Regions from separate parts of the Homo sapiens genome. Here all the other regions are linked to region 2. The links are contacts of gene promoters, found by promoter capture Hi-C in human tissues and cell types (Jung and others, 2019). All regions are on one chromosome and are shown on one strand. The core of a region is centred on a gene start or on the middle of the fragment in contact, and the rest is flanking DNA. Distances in the headings are between cores, read along the strand shown.

What was found. The method cuts DNA at HindIII sites, captures the fragments that hold promoters and counts their contacts. A contact is called where the count stands out against the background at its distance.
Region 1: a fragment that was not itself captured here is called in contact with the fragment with the promoter of CYP46A1 in region 2 in 1 of the 25 tissues and cell types used here (lymphoblastoid cells).
Region 3: a contact is called between a fragment that was not itself captured here and the fragment with the promoter of CYP46A1 in region 2, in 2 of the 25 tissues and cell types used here (IMR-90 fibroblasts and lymphoblastoid cells).

The regions. Positions count from the first base shown.
Region 1 is chr14:100,193,291-100,195,990 of GRCh38, forward strand. No RefSeq gene overlaps it. Among named protein-coding and RNA genes, the nearest start is that of DEGS2, 35 kb to the left of the region's middle. RefSeq lists a silencer at 482-571. The HindIII fragment of the contact is 8,266 bases long and covers 1-2,700 here.
Region 2 is chr14:99,683,002-99,685,701 of GRCh38, forward strand. It overlaps CYP46A1 (cytochrome P450 family 46 subfamily A member 1), which reads left to right and starts at 1,297. Exons shown (of 15, transcript NM_006668.2): 1 at 1,297-1,535. The coding sequence starts at 1,417. RefSeq lists a silencer at 1,102-1,681. The HindIII fragment of the contact is 8,159 bases long and covers 1-2,700 here.
Region 3 is chr14:100,047,065-100,049,764 of GRCh38, forward strand. LOC124903379 (a long non-coding RNA gene) reads right to left here. Exons shown (of 2, transcript XR_007064329.1): 2 at 1-2,700. It also overlaps a transcript of EVL not described here. Among named protein-coding and RNA genes, the nearest start is that of EVL, 17 kb to the right of the region's middle. The HindIII fragment of the contact is 6,293 bases long and covers 1-2,700 here.

The DNA of each region.
Region 1 (2,700 bases), core at 41-2,540, 510 kb after region 2:
ATAAAGGCACAAATCTTTGCCAGACCTCCCGCCAGGCCCCCTGGCCTGCCACGTGCTCCTTGCCGGCCTAGACTCACCCAGGCTGTGCCCTCTGCTCAGAACGACCTTTCCCCCCTTCCTCTCCCCCTCGCTTGCTCCGACTGTTCTTTGCAATCCCGGCTGGGGTTGGGTTAAGGGCCTTCTGGGGCTTCTTCATACCCTGTGCATCTTCCTCCTACTGGCACCGACCACCCCACACTGGGCTGCCATCTGCTTGTCTACACCCACTGACTTTTCATCTCTGTATCTCCCCAGTAAGCAGGAGTGGCTCACAGAAGGCACGTTAATACCTGTGTGTTAATATAAACCAAGGAGCGGGACGATAGCTAGGAAGTAACATCCCTGGGCATCATCTGAGTACCAGGCCCCCTGCCAGGTACTTTAGAGGCTACTTGATGTTCAGGCCCATGGCAGCCCTGGGAGGGAGGCACAAAGGCTCTTTTGTTCCTGGGGAGTCAGTGGAGGCCCCTAGAGGCTGAATGACTGTCTGGGTCCCCCAGCTGGACTGTTTGGGGACAGGCCTGGGGAGCTGAGGGCACCCTCATACCAGGCAGCCTTGCGCCTGAAGCTCTGCTGGTGAAAACTGATGGGCAGGGCCCTGGAAGGGAGAGTCAGCGCCTGCGGGGGCGGGGGTGGGGGTGGGGGTGGGAAGGCAAGCGGAGGGGAAAGGTGAGCATAGACAGGCATTTGTGATGGCCACAGGCCTTCACTGCTACCCTGACATCAGGGCCAATGGCAACCTGCAAGGCCCTTCAAAGCCCTGCTTCCACCTCTGCCCATCTCTGGCTGCAACCTCCTGGTTCTCCCACCCTGTGCTCTATTCTCCAGCTACACTGACCCATGTCAGCTCCCAGGCCATGCATCTGGGCCTTTCACATGCTGCTCTCTCCAGGGTCCATCCAGCCCCACCTCCACCACATTGCCAAGACCAGGCCTTACTTTCCAGACTCCATGTACTTCTCAGCACTGGCCCCACCATTTGTGCTGAGGATCATCAGCTACTGAGACCTGAATTCAACCCCAGGCCCTGGGTTTGAATTCTGACACATTTGTGGCTGACCTTGGAGAACAGCTCATCCATGGGCTCGCAAAACAATGCCGCTGACTTAGACAACACTCTACTGATTTGCTGGCACTGGGCTGGGGCTTTGGTGGACACTGAATCCCCACAAACCAGCCTGCAAGGTCAGACATGTGAAAAGTCCTTTCTGTTTCATCAAGGCTCATCAGGTGAACGTCTCCAACAGGCTCTCACTTCAGCAACATTTCATAGCAGAAGGTGATCTGTCTTCAAGGTTGGAGGCTGGTCCCATAGACCCCAACTCCAGCATCAGGCCAAGGGCTGGGCAAGGCTGCAGGGTTGTGGCTATCCCAAATATGAACTCAGACACACTTAGTTCTGAATCCTGTGTTACCTTGGGCGAATTACTTCACCTCTTTGATCCTTCATTTTCTTCCTTTTTTCTTTTTTGCTTTAGCTTTTCTTTTCAATAAAATTAATAACACGTACATATTTTTAACAGACAAATAGAACTACAAGGCTTACAATGAAAAAAGGCAGTCCCTTGCCTTGCTTTGCCCACCCTGGGTCCTCCCCAAAGAGGCAGCCACTTTGTACTCCTCTAGATGTTTCTTCAGGTTCTCACCTCCATATGTGGAAGTGACAGGTTTACACAGTACTAATGGTTACTGATTTTTTCACATTGAGGTATTATCTAATCACTGCCTACCACTGAGAGGTGAGGGCTTAAATAAACCTTCACATAGGCCAGGCTCACACCTGTAATCCTAGCACTTTGGGAGGCCAAGGCGGGTGGATCACTTGAGGTCAGGAGTTCGAAATGAGCCTGGCCAACATGGTGAAACCCTGTCTCTACTAAAAATACAAAAAAAATTAGCTGGGCATGCTGGGCGCAGTGGCTCAGGCCTGTAATCCCAGCACTCTGGGAGGCCGAGGCGGGCGGATCACCTGAGGTTGGGAGTTCGAGACCACCCTGACCAACATGGAGAAACCCCATCTCTACTAAAAATACAAAAAAAATTAGCCGGGTGTGGTGGCACATGCCTGTAATCCCAGCTACTTGGGAGGCTGAGGCAGGAGAATGGCTTGAACCTGGGAGGCAGAGGTTGCGGTGAGGCGGAGGTTGCGGTGAGCCAGAGATCACGCCATTGCACTCCAGCCTGGGCAACAAGAGTGAAACTCCATCTAAAAAAAAAAAAAAAAATTAGCTGGGCATCGTGGCAGGCTCCTGTAATCCCAGCTACTTGGGAGGCTGAGGCAAGGGAATCACTTGAACCCAGGAAGCAGAGGCTGCAGTGAGCCGAGATCATACCACTGCACTCCAGCCTGGGCAACAGAGCAAGACTGCATCTCAAAAAAAAGAAAAAAAAAAAGCCTTCAAGTACCTACACGTTTCCTTGCCTCGTCTACCACCTCTTAGACTCTGATCTGTAACCTGTATGCTCTCCTTGGGCCAGTGTGAGGATGAAATGACCTCCTGGATACTTGGAGCTCGTGGCACAGTGCTCAGCACCCAGCAGGCACTCAATCAATGCAGCTGCTCAGTCATAAACATCTGCTGAATTGTGTAAGTAAATTTTAAAAATGTTGGGCCAGGCACAGTGGCTCATGCTTATAATCTCAGCACTTTGGGAGGCCAA
Region 2 (2,700 bases), core at 47-2,546:
GCTGCGGTGGCCCCGAGGGCAGAAGTCCCGCCTCCTCCGTGCTGGGCACGGCTCTTAAGACTTGGCCGTCTCCGTCGCCCCTCAGCCCACACCCCTAACAGCCATGTCCCATGTCCCTAACTATACCTGGGAAGGCGGTACCAAGGTCCCCTTCGTTTTCCAACCCCCAACCTCTCCAGGACTGGCTCAAGCGTGGGGCAGGGGCATTGCCTCTTCTCAGAAACCCAGCAGCATCTACACTCCCTGGGCCTCTACCTCCAGCCCGGGGGACCTTTACCTGGGCTAGGAGTGGGCACACCTGGCCTTCCCCTGCCACGACTTTCACGCTGGGTGGTCCCTCGGGATAGGAATTGGGAACTAAAACGCCCAGAATTGGCCTCATCTTCATACGGGATGGGCAAGGAGACGCGGGTTACGACAGAGGGGGAAGCCCTGGTCATTATTTCGAAAATACCTTCTCCTCCGCTACCCCCGCCTCCCCGGCACATTTCCCGCTTTCCCTGGAGGGCGGACCCAGATTTTCATCCCTCCAACTCCAACTCCTTCGGGCCTGAGCCAGCGCCTCAGATGGGGCTTCGCCTGGTCTAGGAGGGTCCGCAGGCCCCCGAGTCTCTGGGAGAACAGCCTCCGGCCACGCCGTGCGCTCTCGGTCGCAGACACAGGCGTCCCTGGGTCCCGCAGGATCCTGCCACCAGCCCGCGGGCCCCGCTGGCGGACCACGGGCGCTAGGCGTGGACTGTCCGGGCGGAGGAGGCGCCCCGGGGCAACTGGAGAACAACTTTGGGGGTCTGGGGTTCCAAGGAGAAGTTTGGGAACAGTCGGCGTTATGCGGACTTTTGCAGGCTGGGATGGGGTTTCCGGGCAGGTTTGGGGGAAAAAGGAAGGGGCCTAAGACCGCGCGCGGAAAGATGCCGTTATTTGGAGGCGCCGAAGCGGGCGGAGCCAGCCAGCAGGACTTCGCGCCGCCGCCGGGCCAGAGCGCTGAGGATCGGCGTTGCCAGGGACAACGCGTTCTGGGCGGAGCTGCTGCTGGGGCGGACCTGAGTCTGAAGAGGTGGGGGCGGAGCCTGGGGGGCTGAGCCAGAAGCGGAGTTGTGATTGGTGAAGACCACATGCTCGGGGTGGGGCCTGGGCTGGGGCGGTGTGGAGGTTGGGGCGGAGCTCTGGGGGGCGGGGCGGGGCGGGGGAGGGCCCGGAGCGCCGGAGCCGGAGGCGGAGACGTGGTTGGCGGGGACTGTGCGCCCTGGGAGGGGTCGGAGTCGGCGGGGGCGGAGCCGAGCGGGCGGGGAGGGTGCTGGGTCGCGCCTGGCCTGGGGCCGAGGCGGCGCGCGGCGCTGACAGCTGAGTCGGCTCGCGGCCTCCCGGCCCCCTCGGCGCCCGGCCCGACCCTGGCCTGGCCTGCCCTGCCCCGGAGCCATGAGCCCCGGGCTGCTGCTGCTCGGCAGCGCCGTCCTGCTCGCCTTCGGCCTCTGCTGCACCTTCGTGCACCGCGCTCGCAGCCGCTACGAGCACATCCCCGGGCCGCCGCGGCCCAGGTGAGCGGGGCTGGGGGCGGGGCCTGGCTGGGGTGCTGGGACTGGGGGCCTGGGGACAGCGTCTAAGCCGGCGTCCAGGCCGGGGGTCCGGCCTCGCCTAGTGCGCGCGGCCGCTGGGAGTCGGCGGCCCCGAGAGGGGCGCTAACTATTCTTAGTAACAAATTACTCACAGCCGCAGCAGCTGCTGGGCGCCCACCGCGCACAGCTGGGCCCCACAAACGTGATGGCAGCCACAGCCCTTTCAGGTAGGCGCTATTGTTAACCCATCGTTCAGACGAGGAGACTGAGGCGCTCAGAGGCGAAGTCACCTGCCCAAGGTCACACGGTTGGTAAGCCTAGATTTAAGCCCAGGTCAGCCTGCCTCCAAAGTGGGCGCTGTTAACTTTGGGACTTGGACAGGGTCAGCCTGGATTGGAGCACGCTGTACTTCAGTCATGTTTCCTTTTGCTTGTATTTCTGTTCTGGGACACCCCATTTGTCTTCTCCTTAGTACTTACAATTGCATTCTTGGTCCCCACCCCCACGCAACTTACACCCCCCTCAACTTGCCAACCCCCCCCCACCCCCAGCTTAGCTTTGTGAAGCTTAAATTAAATGTGTCATTTCCCTGCTCCAAGGGCTTCCCATCACTTGACAACTAAATGCAGTTCTAAATTAAGTCGGCTGCATGGCCCGCGAGGCCCCTGCCGAGCACTCAGAACCCACTCTGCAGCTTGCTCTTTCCTCTTGCTTTCTCACTACTGCCCCCAGCCTTTCTTCTCCCAGCCTCCCCCTCCCCCCGCCCCCCCCGCAGCTTCCCTCCCCCCGGGTCCTTTTCTCAAGCCTGGGCCTGGCGGGCTTCTTCCTCTGCTTGTCTCAAACAGGCCTTGCCCAGCACCTTGTGTAAAGACCACCCAGCCCCAGACTTCTCAGGGGCCATCACCTCTGAGGTTACCTTCTTTCCACCTGTTGACTGTCTGTTCACCTGTTGACTGTCTCCCCCTCTAGAATGTGAGCCCCGGGAGGACAGGGACACTCTGTGTTCGCTTGTGTATCCCCAGTGCCTGGCGTGTTGCAGATCTCAATAAATATTTGTTGAATGAATGAATAAACAATTGTATTAGACACACTTTTTAAAATCTCAGGACATGAATATTCTGGAAGGCACCCATCTCCAGCACAAGCC
Region 3 (2,700 bases), core at 79-2,578, 360 kb after region 2:
TCTAAACTCAGTTTTGCAGCCAATATTTTGAGACCTTGGGCAGATCTCTCTCTCTTTTTTTTTTTTTTTTTTTTTTTTTTTACCTGACCCCAGTTTCTTCAGGAAGCCGTTAAACCTAGGACAGAAACTGTCCTTGGGTTTAATCTGAAAACAATCAGAGCCCTGCAAGTCCTTTGATCCAGTCTCTTACCTAAAGTAGACGGGCGCTATAGTTACCATTGGCTAGATGGCCAATGGCAAACCAAAATAGTTTTCCTGTAGCTTCCCCCTCTGAAAGCAGGAAGCATAGCCTATCTATCTCTGGACTCCCTGTACCCAAGCACAGAGCCTGGTTCTAGTCATTGGGCAGAATCGTCTCCCTAGGGATCACACAGAAGGATCCGTTCTTTCCACTGAGCTCCGTTGCACAGGTCCAGAGCCAGAGCTCACACTCTCTTTCCATTGCTCCGGGACAGACAGCCCTGCTTTCCTCAGCCAGTTGTCAGATGTTATGATTTCTATTTGCCTTATTATCTTAGTTGCCGTCAAGGAATGCTTCCAGGTTGGCAGTGCCTTGCTTATATTGTAATATCAAAAACTGATCTAAATATTTCATTTGTGTAGCCTGGGTTACACATTCTGCAACCTATATCACGGAATAAACCAGGTACCCAACCACTGTTCATTATTCAGATTGTGAGTTAGCCTGGTGTTTTTACAAGTTACCCTACAGAGAGCTTGGACACGTGGGTAGAAAGTCCAGAAATAGGTCCCGACAAAAATGCCAAGTGATGTTTGACAAAGGTAAAAAGTCCGTTCAGTGAGAAAGTATAGCCTTTTCAGCAAATGGTACTGGAACAATTGGACACCCTTATGCAAAAAGAAGTGAATTTTGGCCTAATCCTCACATGTTATACAAAAGTTACTTCAAAGTGGTTCATAAATCTGAATATAAAATCTAAAACTATAAAACTTGTGGAAGAAAACTTGAGACAATCTTCATGACCTGGGATTTAGGGAAGAGGTTCTTAGACATGACAGCGAAAGCACCATCCATAAAAGAAAAAGGATAAATTGGACTTCATCAAATTAAATTTCATCAAAAAGATAAATTTTGACTTCATCAGAATTAAAAACTATTATTCTGTGAAGGATACTTTTATAAGAATGAAAAGACGAGAGACAGACTTGGAGAAAATATTTACAAATACAAAGGGCTTGTCTTTGGAATATATAAAGAACTCTCAAAACTTAACTATAAGAAAGTAACCCAGTTTTTTCAACTGGGCAAAAGACAGACACTTCACCAAAGAGGATATACAGATGGCAAATAAGCACGAGAGAAGATGCATGACATCATTAATCATTAGAGAAATGTAGGTTAAAATTAGGATATCATATGCACTTACTAGAGTGACTAAGATGAAATACTGACAGTGCCTTGGGGGTGCAGAGCAGCAACTCTCCTACACTGCCAGAAGGAATACAAAATGGCACAGCTACTCTGGAAAGCAGTTTGGCAGTTCCTTATAAAGTTTTACATACAGTTAACATATAACCCAGCAATCCTACATAGTCAGCCTATGGAAATGAAAGCTTACGTTCGTGACCATTGCCAAAAACTGTGAACAGCCCAAATGTCCTTTGATTAAATGGATAAACAACTTGTAATACGTCCATACAACAGAACACTACTCTGCAAAAAAACAAACAAAAAAAACACTAATTATTAACTAACACAACAGCTCGGATGAATCTCAAAGCATTACACTGAATAAAGGAGGCCTATTAAGTCATAAAATGTTACACGTTGTATGATTCTATTAACATGACATTTTCCTAAAGACAAAACTGTTGAGATGGAGAACAGATCAGTGGTTGCTGGGAATTGGTGGGGGCGGATATGACTACAAAGGGAGAGCTGAGGGAGCTTGGGAGTGATGGCACTCTTCTGCCTTCTGATTGTGGTGGTGGTTACACCACCAATCTATGTAGGTGTTACATTCATGGAAATGAAATAAAAGCAAAACCAAACCAAGCAAAAAGGTCTGAGAAACAAAAACTCCAGTAATTTAAGTGGTGAAGTAGTTTTGCATTATTATGTTCCTTTGGATTTATTTGATTTGTAATTAACCAAATCTAGCTAATGTGTCCTATTTTTCTTTAAATGTTCCTTAAAACCATTGGAAATCATTGATAGGAAGCAGAAGGTTTGGAAACATATAGCTTGGGAAATAAACAGTTCTCAGGTCAAGTTCATAGGCTTGCCTCAAAGCGTGTGAGTGTAGTTCAAGTTCAAGGAATTGCCTGGAAGCCAAAGAGCACATGTACTGCAACTGTGTATTCTAGGGAGGCCTTTTTTGTCAGCAGCGCCCTTGCTTCATTTTATGTCATTGTACTCTCTGGACAGCTGAAATAACTTGAGAATTATCACCCTGGATGCAGTCCTTTATACTGAGTATTGTTTCTGATGTGAGTCAGAATGTGGGATGGTTTTCTTCAACAGTCTCAAAATTCTCCTGTTACTTCATAACCCAGTTGGAAGCATTTATATTTTCAGTCTGCATTTGGGGCATTTTTAAACAATATCTTTATTGAGATATAATATACATACCATAAAATCCACCCTTTGAAAGTATACAACTCAGTTGTTTTTAGTATATTCACTGAGTTTTGCAACCATCACCACAATTAATTTTAGAACATTTTTATCACCCCAAA